2 separate regions of the Homo sapiens genome follow, and region 2 is linked to region 1. The links are contacts of gene promoters, found by promoter capture Hi-C in blood cells and fetal thymus (Javierre and others, 2016). All regions are on one chromosome and are shown on one strand. The core of a region is centred on a gene start or on the middle of the fragment in contact, and the rest is flanking DNA. Distances in the headings are between cores, read along the strand shown. Region 1 holds the start of LPIN3 (lipin 3). Region 2 overlaps ZHX3 (zinc fingers and homeoboxes 3).

Evidence for each region. Contacts are between HindIII fragments. The CHiCAGO score rates a contact against its expected background, and 5 or more counts as called.
Region 2: a fragment that was not itself captured here is called in contact with the fragment with the promoter of LPIN3 in region 1 in 5 of 17 cell types (non-activated CD4 T cells, naive CD4 T cells, endothelial precursors and 2 more); the score reaches 6.0 in non-activated CD4 T cells.

The regions. Positions count from the first base shown.
Region 1 is chr20:41,336,604-41,342,834 of GRCh38, forward strand. It overlaps LPIN3 (lipin 3), which reads left to right and starts at 4,218. Exons shown (of 20, transcript NM_022896.3): 1 at 4,218-4,399. RefSeq lists an enhancer at 3,830-3,879 and a silencer at 4,040-4,199. The HindIII fragment of the contact is 12,951 bases long and covers 1-6,231 here.
Region 2 is chr20:41,235,111-41,241,714 of GRCh38, forward strand. All of the region lies in intron 2 of ZHX3 (zinc fingers and homeoboxes 3), which reads right to left. Among named protein-coding and RNA genes, the nearest start is that of MIR6871, 69 kb to the left of the region's middle. The HindIII fragment of the contact is 2,099 bases long and covers 4,289-6,387 here.

The sequences.
Region 1 (6,231 bases), core at 2,968-5,467:
TGCAGTGAGCCAAGATCACACAAATCCCCATCTCAGGGTGTCAGTTTCTTCACTGGTAAAATGGGATAACTACTGTCCCCATTATCCTGGGTTTTGTGAAAATCCAATGAGATAATGCAAATGAAGAACTCATGCACCCAGTAGGTGCTCAATAAATGTTAGCGATCCCTCCTGGGAGTAGGCAGGAGACATGGCAGGCAGGGAAAGCATGAACAGGAGCAGAGATGGGAAAGGTCCCAAGCAGGTCAGCTGGGCTGGCAGAAGAGCCAAGGCCCAGCACAGCAGCCAGGGAGTGTCCTGTAGAAGTAACTGGGAGCCACGCACAGTTCTGGAGCTGGGCAGTGACAGGTGGAAGCTGAATGTGGCAACATGGGGCAGAGGCCATTGCCGGCAGCAAGTCCCACGTGCTGGAGACTTGGCTGTTTGGCTAGACATAGGGTTGCCAGATTTAGCAAAGAAGATAAAGTATGTCCAGTTAAATTTGAATCTCAGATGAATAATGAATACTTTCTTTTAGTATAAGTATGTCCCAAATATTGCTTGGGTATACTTATATTAAAAAGCAGTTGCTGTGCATCTGAAATTCAGATTTACATGAGTGTCCTTTATTTTTATTTGCTGAATCTGGCAATCCCAACTAGACACCAGTTGCCTGCCCCCCAGCCCTTAGTCCTGCATGCAGTGGGAGACCCAGCCCCAGGGTCCACTGCCTCCCTTCCCACCTTCAACAAAGCCACCAGGAGTGATTGATGAGCTGCTCCCAGAAGCCAGTATTGCTGCTCTGAGTGATCACAACTACAGGCCTGGGTAAGGGGGCCCTCTCACCTCATGCCAGGTTCACCCAGCAAGAAAGTAGAGGGGCACAGTCACTAACCACTGGGTCTGTAAATTAACAAAGCACATAGGGTGAATGGAATGACTCATCCCAGGACTTTGAGAGGCAGAGACAAGAGGATTGCTTGAGCCCAGGAGTTCGGGACCAGCCTGGGTGACATAGTGAGACACCCATCCCTACAAAAAATTTTTAAAAATTAGCTAGATGTGGCTGGGCACCGTGGCTCACGCCTGTAATACCAGCACTTTGGGAGGCCCAGGCGGGTGGATCATGAGGTCAAGAGTTCAAGACCAGCCTGGCTAAGATGGCAAAACTCTATCTCTCCTAAAAATACAAAAATTAGCCAGGCATGGTGGCAGGCACCTGTAATCCCAGCTACTCATGAGGCTGAAGCAAATAATCGCTTGAACCTGGGAGGCGGAGGTTGCAATAAGCCGAGATTGTGCCACTACACTCCAGCCTGGGCAACAGAGCGAGACTCTGTCTCTAAAAAAAAAAAAAAAAAAAAAAAAAAGCCAGGTGTGATCATGCATGCCTGTGGTCCCAGCTCCTCGAGAGGCTGAAGTAGGAGAATTGCTTGAGCCCAGGAGGTCAAGGGTGCAGTGAGCTGTGATTGTGCCACTGCACTCCATCCTGGGTGACAGAGCCAGACCCTGTCTAAAACAAAACAAAAAAACAATAAAACACATAAGCTACCAAATTCTGTAAAGAAGGAAGTACCACCTGCATTCTTGGATTAATGAAGAAACAAACAGCTGCCAGTGATATAGGCTCATCCGATGAGTATACCCAAGCAGAGGAAAAAATGGCCTCCACCTTCAACCCCAGAAATGGGCAAACACAAGTGTCCATGCTGCTTGCACCCTCAGAGAAAGCCCTGGAGATGGTGATGTCAACCACAAGCTAGAGTGGGACAGTCTCTGCCTTATTCAGTTCCATTCAGTGTTAGAACAAGTCATACTAGCAGAGGCTGTTCTATCTGCCTTTCTTCTCCTACCCTCATCACCAAATCCCAGATGATTGAGAGTTCCAGAAACGAGCCTGTCAGAAATGCAATTTTTCTTTTTCTTTTTTTTTTTTTTTGAGACAATGTCTTGCTCTGTCACCCAGGGTGGAGTACAGAGGCGCCATCTCAGCTCACTGCAACCTCCACCTCCTCGGTTCAAGTGATTCTCCTGCCTCAGCCTCCTGAGTAGCTGAGACTACAGCTGTGCACCACCATGCCTGGCTAATTTTTTTTTTTTTTGTATTTTTAATAGAGACGGGGGACCGAGCGCAGTGGCTAACGCCTGTAATCCCAACACTTTGGGAGGCTGAGGTGGGTGGATCACGAGGTCAGGAGATCGAGACCATCCTGGCTAACACAGTGAAACCCTGTCTCTACTAAAAATACAAAAAATTAGCTGGGCATGGGGATGGGCCCCTGTAGTCCCAGCTACTCAGGAGGCTGAGGCAGGAGAATGGCGTGAACCCGGAAAGTGGAGCTTGCAGTGAGCAGAGATGGTGCCACTGCACTCCAGCCTGAGTGACAGAGCGAGACTTCATCTCAAAACAAAAACAAAAACAAAAAAACAGAGATGGGGTTTCACCGTGTTGGCCAGGCTGGTCTCCAACTCCTGACCTCAGACGATCCGCCCACCTCTGCCTCCCAAAGTGCTGGGATTGCAGGCGTAAGCCACCTCACCCCAGCCGCAAATGCAATTTCTGCAACAACCTTTATATCAACTTTTTTTCCTCTAACAATGAACAATGAAAACAATTTGTGCTCCATCTTTAAAAATGTGTGACACAAAAATTTTTTAAATAAAAATAAATATGTGATAAACATTCCTGAATGCCTAGTGTGTGCCCTGGCGCTGTGCTCTGCATTTAATTTGGATCAGCAGTTCTCAGCCTTGTTTGTACATTACAACCAACTGGAGAGGTTTTTAAACTCCCAGTATCCGGGGCATCAGTATTCGTCTAGGGCACAGTGATTCTAACACACAGTCAAGGTTGAGAACCACTTATTTAATTCATCCTGTAAATCCTCACAATAGAATCCTGCAAGGTAGCTTTTATCACCACCTTTGCCGATGAAATTGAGGCTCAAAGAGGTAAATTGATTTCGGCATCTGTAGCCCCAACCTGTGACCTCTCCTTCCTTCCTTCTCGGGCTCCCTTCAGGGATTTCCTGATGTTACAGAAAATGGTATGTATGACGCTGCCCTCCTGGCCACCTTGACATAGCTCTGCTCCCAACAGGGCTCTTCTGAGATAGCAGCCAGACACTACCTGGGATCAGGACTGATACTAAATGACTTCTGCCAAAATGAGGACAACTGAGGCCAGTCACTTCCAAACAGGTTCTGTCACCCTGAGTCAGAATAATGGCAGCTACCTCTCCTCCTCACCGCCCAGTCGTTTCTAAGCCTGGCTCGTCGCCGTTGCTGCTCCGCCAAGCCTTTCCTCGGTGCCCTCTCTCTTTTAGAACAAATTACTTCATCTCCAGGCCCTTCTCAGGGCAGCTTCTTTGCAGGGGCCATAGGGCGTCGGAAAGGTCTTTGGTCCAGGAAAGCCGCGAGCCACAGATCCAAGAGGAAAAAGCCGTTCCCGGCCCGGGCCTTGCCCAAGGCACGAGAGTAAATGCACCTTCCGCGTGCCTCGGCGCACCTGGGCTCACCTGTCCCCTCCCGCAGTGCCTGCAGACAGGGAGGGAGCGCGGCTGGGCCAGAAGGCTGATCACCGCCTGCCCCCTGCTGGCCAGTGTCAGTATTGAGCCCGCTGCCGCTCGACCAGAACGTCCCAGGGATGGAATGAAGGTGCGGGCATTTATGGAGCGCCTGCTGTTTGTCAGGCGAGGTACTGATAAGCGCTGGAGTGTAAGGATGTACGTGACCTGCTCTCAGAGTTCAAATTTAAATGAAGAGATATACATTAATCAAGTAGTCATTCAAGCAAATATGAAATTACAACTGTGGGCTATGCGAACAGATGACGCGAGGGGCCTGTCCAGTCTGGGAGATACGGGTGGGTTCAGGAAAAGCTGCCCCCAGGAGGGGACGTTTGAGCGCCAGGAGCCGCGCAAAGTCATTTCATGTCATCTCTAAAATCCTGCAAGGCGGCTTTCCCCCTTGACAAAACAGGAAATGGGATCAAATTGAGGAAGGAATTCACCCAAGATCACACAGCAAGCTGGAAGCAAATCTGGGAGGAGCTAGGTCCGCCCCGTTCCGAAATCCACACTTTTCTGGAGGTGGGGCAGGCGGTGGCACAGGGACTTGGGGCGGGGTCTGGTGGGCGGGGCATGAAGTCTGGCCCCGCCCCCGCCTCCGAGGCCAAAGGGCGCCCTGGGCGGGGATCGGAGCAGGGGCGGGGTCTTTCCAGGGAGTGGAGCCTGGGCAGATTGGGGCCTGTGGAGGCCGCACTAGGATCGTAGAAGGAGTGGAGCCGTGCTCTCACCCTGTCTTAGAGGACCCGGAAGCGCCAAGTGACTGAGGGCCGAAGACACTCACCTGTGGAGCCTGTGCACGTAGGTAGAGGCGGCGGCTCTGAGTCCAGGAGCTCCAGTGGGCAGCTCCCCAGGTAGGGCCCAACTCGGGGGGAGAAGAGATGACCCTCTCCCCTCCCGCCCTGCCCATCTGTCCTGCCATCCTACATTCCTTCCTTCCTGTCCGCGGGCCTGGGTCCACCCCTAGCTGTAAGATGGGGACGCAGGGGTGGAGGGACTGGCCTCATTTTGTCCCTTTTTCCCTGGCCCAGCGGCTGCAGGCCCCCTGGACACCCAGAACGTAGAGTCTGGAGAGGAGACGTCGAAACCTCCCAGGGGAGGCTGGCCCAGCTTTACCCCAGCCTGACTGTGTGACCTTGAGGAGGACAGCCACTTTCTCTGGTACCCAGTGTCCTCAGTTGCAAAACAGTGACTGGCCCTTGCCCTGCTTGCCCTGAGACTGGGCAGATCAGATGCTGTAGCTGCTGGGGGCTGGGGTGGCGCTTTCTCTCTACTGGGGCACTAGGAGTGCTTACTCTCCTGCTCCCTCTGGTCCTCGGTGGAGAGCCACACCCTTCATCCACCCAAACCTGGGAGCCCCGAGGGCTGAGAGCCTAGTCCTAGGGCAGCTTGCTCTGGCTTCCCTGTGCTAGAGTTGTAGTCTAGCCTGGAAGGCCTGTGAACATCCCCAAGGTGGGGTGTGAGGCCTACGTGGAGTGCACATGCTCGTTTTGCAAATAGTGGTGCCACCATTGTGCATGGCCTTGAGTGCCAAGTTAAGAAGTCCAAACTCCGCTGGGCGCGGTGGCTCACGCCTGTAATCCCAGCACTTTGGAGACTGAGGCGGGTGGATCATGAGGTCAGGAGATCGAGACCATCCTAACACGGTGAAACCCCGTCTCCACTAAAAATACAAAAAATTAGCCGGGTGTGGTGGCACACGCCTGTAGTCCCAGCTACTCGGGAGGCTGAGGCAGGAGAATTGCTTGAACCCAGCAGGCGGAGCTTGCAGTGAGCCAAAATCATGCCACCGCACTCCAGTCTGGGTGACAGGGCAAGACTCCATCTCAAAAAAATAAATAAATAAAAGAAGTCCAAACTCTCAACTGCTGGCAGGGGCAGTTCATCAGAGTATGACCTGCAGTGCCCACAGGACCAGCCTGCATGAGTGGGGCTGTCATGATGCTGCTGCTGATAGGTGTACATACAGGTTTTTATTGCATTCCAGGGCTTTACACAAAGTCATTAGTTACTCACACGTGCCTGATGTTATTCCCATTTTGGAGGCTGAGACTGAGGGTCAGAGAGATGAAGTCACTTGCCCATGGTCACAGCTAGCAAATGGCGGAGTGGGGATCAGCACCCAGATAATCTGGTGCCTTTTCTCCTAATGTCCTGTGGCCACCCGTGATCTGGGCATCTGGTTATAAAGTCTTAACCTAGGACAGCTGGAGAAAGGAGGGGCTGGATGAGCAGGAAATTGGGGGAGAAGATTCAGAGGGCTAGGGAGGGAGAGAGGGGTAGTGACTAGTCCTAAGGGGTATTCGGCTTCCTGGGAAGGTGTGAGGAGTGAAGTGGCTGATTTTAGACATGTTAGTTTGTGGGTGGAGGGTGATAGAGGGGAGCCAAGCAGAGCTCTCCTCTGTCTGGAAAAGAACAAGGAGGTAGAGCTGGGTCCTGGGAAAAGGGGGTGCCTAAGGGATAGGTGAAGACAGAGGCGGGCTCACAGAAGGCCCCCAAAATGCTGAGCAGGCAGATGTGGGGGGGCTCACTGGAAGCCCCCAAAATGCTGAGCAGGCAGATGTGGGGGGCTCACAGAAGGCCCCCAAAATGCCGAGCAGGCAGATGTGGGGGACATCCATTGGTGAAGTGGGGGGAACAGAGAGAGGAGAGAATTCTGGACTCCCGTGACATTAGATCTGAGGGA
Region 2 (6,604 bases), core at 4,088-6,587, 100 kb before region 1:
AGCAAACTCGGTGTGTGTGTGTGTATGTGCACACATGGCTGGGAGTGGGGGGTAGTGCCAAAATGTTGGTTCTATGGCAAACAACAACAACAAAACAAACAAACAAAAAAACCGGCTGTGTATAGCTAAAAAACATGGCCAAGAAAAAGGTAGAATAGAAAACATGTTTTATTATCCTGATACTAAAGCCTGGCAGAGACACAATAAAAAAAGAGAATTTTAGACCAATATCCCTGATGAACATCGATGCAAAAATCCTCAATAAAATACTGGCAAACCGAATCCAGCAGCACATCAAAAAGCTTATCTACCATGACCAAGTTGGCTTCATACCTAGGATGCAAGGCTGGTTCAACATATGCAAATCAATAAATGTAATCCATCATATAAACAGAACCAAAGACAAAAACCACATGATTATCTCAATAGATGCAGAAAAGGCCTTTGACAAAATTCAACAGCCCTTAATGCTAAAAACTCTCAATAAATTAGGTATTGATGGGACGTATCTCAAAATAGTAAGAGCTATCTATGACAAACCCACAGCCAATATCATACTGAATGGCAAAAACTGGAAGCATTCCCTTTGAAAACTGGCACAAGACAGGAATGCCCTCTCTCACCACTCCTATTCAACATAGTGTTGGAAGTTCTGGCCAGGGCAATCAGGCAGGAGAAGGAAATAAAGGGTATTCAATTAGGAAAAGAGGAAGTCAAATTGTCCCTGTTTGCAGATGACATGATTGTATATCTAGAAAACCCCATCATCTCAGCCCAAAATCTCCTTAAGCTGATAAGCAACTTCAGCAAAGTCTCAGCATACAAAATCAATGTGCAAAAATCACAAGCATTCCGATACACCAATAACAGACAAACAGAGAGCCAAATCATGAGTGAACTCCCATTCACAATTGCTTCAAAGAGAATAAAATACCTAGGAATCCAACTAACAAGGGATGTGAAGGACCTCTTCAAGGAGAACTACAGACCACTGCTCAATGAAATAAAAGAGGATACAAACAAATGGAAGAACATTCCATGCTCATGGGTAGGAAGAATCAATATCGTGATAATGGCCATACTGTCCAAGGTAATTTACAGATTCAATGCCAACCCCATCAAGCTACCAATGACTTTCTTCACAGAATTGGAAAAAACTACTTTAAAGGTCATATGGAACCAAAAAAGAGCCCGCATTGCCAAGTCAATCTAAGCCAAAAGAACAAAGCTGGAGGCATCATGCTACCTGACTTCAAACTATACTACAAGGCTACAGTAACCAAAACAGCATGGTACTGGTACCAAAACAGAGATGTAGACCAATGGAACAGAACAGAGCCCTCAGAAATAATGCCACATATCTACAACCATCTGATCTTTGACAAACCTGACAAAAACAAGAAATGGGGGAAGGATTCCCTATTTAATAAACGGTGCTGGGAAAACGGGCTAGCCATATGTAGAAAGCTGAAACTGGATCCCTTCCTTACACCTTATACAAAAATTAATTCAAGATGGATTAAAGACTTAAATGTTAGACGTAAAACCATAAAAACCCTAGAAGAAAACCTAGGCAATACCATTCAGGACATAGGCATGGGCAAGGACTTCATGTCTAAAACACCAAAAGCAATGGCAACAAAAGCCAAAATTGACAAATGGGATCTAATTGAAGAGCTTCTACAAAGCAAAAGAAACTACCATCAGAGTGAACAGGCAACCTACAGAATGGGAGAAAATTTTTGCAATCTACCCATCTGACAAAGGGCTAATATCCAGAATCCACAAAGAACTCAAACAAATTTACAAGAAAAAAACAACCCCATCAACAAGTGGGCAAAGGATATGAACAGACACTTCTCAAAAGAAGACATTTATGCAGCCAAAAGACACATGAAAAAATGCTCATCATCACTGGCTATCAGAGCAATGCAAATCAAAACCACAATGAGATACCATCTCACACCAGTTAGAATGGCAATCATTAAAAAGTCAGGAAACAACAGGTGCTAGAGAGGATCTGGAAAAATAGGAACACTTTTACACTGTTGGGGGGACTGTAAACTAGTTCAACCATTGTGGAAGTCAGTGTGGCGATTCCTCAGGGATCTAGAACTAGAAATGCCATTTGACCCAGCCATCCCATTACTGGGTATATACCCAAAGGATTATAAAACATGCTGCTATAAAGACACATGCACATGTATGTTTATTGCGGCACTATTCACAATAACAAAGACTTGGAACCAACCCAAATGTCCAACAAAGATAGACTGGATTAAGAAAATGTGGCACATATACACCATGGAATACTATGCAGCCATAAAAAATGATGAGTTCATGTCCTTTGTAAGGACATAGATGAAGCTGGAAACCATCATTCTCAGCAAACTATCGCAAGGACAAAAAACCAAACACCGCATGTTCTCACTCATAGGTGGGAATTGAACAATGAGAACACACAGACACAGGAAGGGGAACATCACTCACCAGGGCCTGTTGTGGGGTAGGAGGAGTGGGGAGGGATAGCATTAGGAGATATACTTAATGTTAAATGAAGAGCTAATGGGTGCAGCACACCAACATGGCACATGTATATGTAACAAACCTGCACGTTGTGCACATGTACCCTAAAACTTAAAGTATAATTAAAAAAATAAAATAAAATAAAGAAAATATGTTTTATTAACAAACAGCATATTTTATAATGGCGGTGATCAATATTTATTAAACACAAGGTTCTAGAGGGCTCTTCTGGTAGGATAATTCTAAGAAAGAGGTTCCAGATGTCAACTTACATATTCCCTTATAAAACACAGCCCTGGCTTACACAGTATCTGGTGTACATGTCTCTTCTCTCCAATGAACTATAAGATCTTTGAGGTAAGGGTTCAGTGCTGCACCACTCAGCTACACTAATGGCAATGTGCACACAGTGAGCACTCATTAAATACATCAGTTACAGTTCACTTGCAGTTGCTTGCTTACTACCAAAAACCGGGGTCAATCATTATAAGCATTCCCATCCAACACCCAATTTGTTGCATGGGGAATGAACTTCAGTTTGGGTCCCTTGCTATTAAAGCACTCAATACCCATTATTTGTTTGCATTTATGTCGAACTCATAGATGCAGGATCTGAAAAGTTAAATGAAGCTTAACATAGGCATCCAAATAAAATTAATTAGAATTTATATCTCAACTATTTCTAACAGAGTTTGAGTAACAAGACTCAACAGAAGGAAAACAGGGTAATAACAGAGACTAAGAGGGAAAAAAAGGAAGGCAGCAGGGAGTGAAGGCTGGAGAAGAGAAGAAGGAAGGAAAAGAAGGAGGGACAGAGGGTGGAAACATCTATCTAAGCAAGAGCTTCTTCCTCAAGTCAAAAATTTCTGCAAAAAACAACATCTTTTTGGACAAATTTACATGATGCTTCTAACATCTGCTCATTGTGAAAAATGCAGGATAAAAACCTACAAATTCAGTATTTTTAGTATTTTTATCTAAATTTATATTTCATCAAAACAAGATAAATTTGAAAAATATTAATACATATATAGGCAAGACATTTCCTTACTTTGCGGAAATATGCTCACATAAATAATCCATTCTTTGCCAAAATAGAGCCCTTCCAACACCTGTTCCCCAATCTCCAAGGCAGGGTCTTGGTCCATGGGTTAGAATCACTAAAACACACAAAATACAAGGAAATGTATCTATTAAGCACCATTTGGATTCTAAGATGCAAGTAAGAAACCTAATTTGAAAGGGCTTACATAATAAAGGTGGTTTGCTGGCACATGCAAATGGAAAGTTCAGCGGCTTCAGGTTGAGTTTGAGTCAGTTGCTCTATGATGAAAACAAGGGCCTATTTTCTCTCTCTTTTTTTTTTTTTTTTTTTTTTTTTTGGGAGACGGAGTCTTGCTCTGTCGCCCAGGCTGGAGTGCAGTGGCATGATCTCGGCTCACTGCAAGCTCCGCCTCCTGGGTTCACGCCATTCTCCTGCCTCAGCCTCCCGAGTAGCTGGGGCTATAGGCGCCCACCACCATGCCCCGCTAATTTTTTTTTTTTGTATTTTTTAGTAGAAACGGGGTTTCACCATGTTAGCCAGGATGCTCTCGGTCTCCTGACCTCGTGATCCGCCCGCCTCGGCCTCCCAAAGTGCTGGGATTACAGGCGTGAGCCACCGTGCCTGGCCAATAAGGGCCTATTTTCTTTCTTTCTACTTCGTCAACCACATCCTAGGGGTAGCTTCCCTCGTGACAGCAAGGTAACTCCAGCAGCCCCAAGCTTCATGTCCCAAACATCCAGAAGGACACAGAGAGAGGGCCGTCTTGGGGAGGTCTATCAGAAGACTGAAGAGCCTTCTTCCCAAAGTCCTCAGCAAGCATGCTGGTGGCCTGCACAGGTCACATGCCCAGCCATGAACAAACCTCTTGGCATGACTGCCACTGGGTTAATCACTGTGCAACAGGTGTGGGGTTTACCTGACTGGGCTTAAACAATCAAGATCCATCCCTGGAGCTGGGGGTGGGACCAATCCTTCTCCTACCAGAAGACAGAAACAAACATTCCCTGTTTCCTATGGAAGGGACTGGGGAGGGAGGGAGAAGAGACATTGTGAGAAGGGGAACAATTAGAATGCCCTCCACCCTTCACCTGGCACTGAATTTGACCCTGTGATTCCCAGTATCAAGGGAAAATATGGAAATGTATTTTAAGTGACACTATTTTTATCGTTTAACAAAGACAAATGTTTATTCTTATACAGAGATAAATTCTTTTGAAGGGAAACCCAAGGAGAAGAATGTCTTGGAACTGTGTTTAAGAGAAAATAGGTAAAGCAGGAGGCTTAGTTTGGAAAGATGCAGTCACACTCAATAGGCCATTCCTTTTTTTTTTTTGAGACAGTCTCTTGCTCTGTTGCCCAGGCTGGAGGGCAGTGGCGCCATCTTGGCTCACTGCAACCTCTGCCTCCCAGGTTTAAGCGATTCTCCTGCCTCAGCCTTCCAAGTAGCTGGGACTGCATGTGCATGCCACCATGCCAGGCTAATTTTTGTATTTTTTTAGTAGAGATGGGGGGTTTTGCCATGTTGGCCAGGCTGGTCAACAGGCCATTCCTACATGGATCCTCCAGAAGGCAGAGCATGGGACAGTAAATCATATCATAATCCAGTGAAGTTACTTTGGCAGAGGGCTGAGATGATATAGCTCAGATGCTTTCCCTTCAAATCATCGAACTTACTGCAAAGAGTAGTAACTCACATATCTTAGAACCCCTTTTTTAATGTTTATTTTTGTAGGTACATGGTAGGTATATATATTTATGGGTTACATGAGATATTTTGGTACAGGCATGTGACGCATAATAATCACATCAGGGTAAATGAGGAATTCATCGCCTCAAGTATTTATCCTTTGAATTATACTGTTATTTGTAAATGTACGATTATTTTCTACAATAGTCACCCTGTTGTGCTGGCAAATACTAGGTCTTATTCAATTTTTTTGTACCCACGAACCATCCCTATTTCCCCCCCGTCACTCACCCTACTACCCTTCCCAGCCTCTGGTAACCATCCTTCTACTCTGTATCTCGATAAGTTCAATTCTTTTAATTTTTAGCTCCAACAAATAACTGAGAACATGCAAAGTTTGTCTTTCTGCTCCTGGCTTATTTCACTTAACATAATGACCTCCAGTTCTATCCATGTTGTTGCAAATGACAAGATCTCATTCTTTTGTATCGTTGAATAGTACTTCATTGTGTATATGTACTACAGTTTTCTTTATCCATTCATCTGTTGATGGGCACATAGGTTGCCTTCCAAATCTTGGCTATTGTGAATAGTGCTACAATAAACATAAGTATGCAGATATCTCTTCGATATACTAATTTCCTTTTTGGGGGTATATACCCAGCAGTGGGATGGCTGGATTGTATGATAGCTCTATTTTTAGTTTTTAGAGGAACCTCCAAACTGTTCTCCACAGTGGGAAATTACATTCCCAGCAACAGTGTACAAGGTGTCCCTTTTCTCCATATCCTCACCAGCATTTGTTACTTATTGCCTGCCTTTTGGATAAAGGTCATTTTAACTGGGGTGAGGTGATATGTCCTTGTAGTTTTGATTTGCATTTCTCTGATAAATGATGCTGAGCACTTTTTCCTATGCCCGTTTGCCATTTGTATGTCTTCTGAGAAATGTCTATTCAAATCCCTTGCCCATTTTTAATGGGATTATTAGATTTTTTTCCTATCGAGTTGTTTGAGCTCTTTATATATTCTGATTATTAATCCTTTGTCAGAAAGGTAGTTTGCAAATATTTTCTCCCATATTGTGGGTTGTCCCTTCACTTTGTTAATTGTTCCCCTTGCTGTGCAGAAGCTTTTTAACTTGATGTGATTCCATTTGTTCATTTTTGCTTTGGTTGCCTGTGCTTGTCCAGGTATTACTCAAGAAATCTTTGCCCACTTCTGTTTCATGGGTCTATGTGTCTGTTTTTATGCCAATATCATGCTGTTTTGGTTACTATAACTCTGTGTATAATTTGAAGTTAGGTAATGTGATTCTTCCAGTTTTGTTCTTTTTGCTCTGGATAG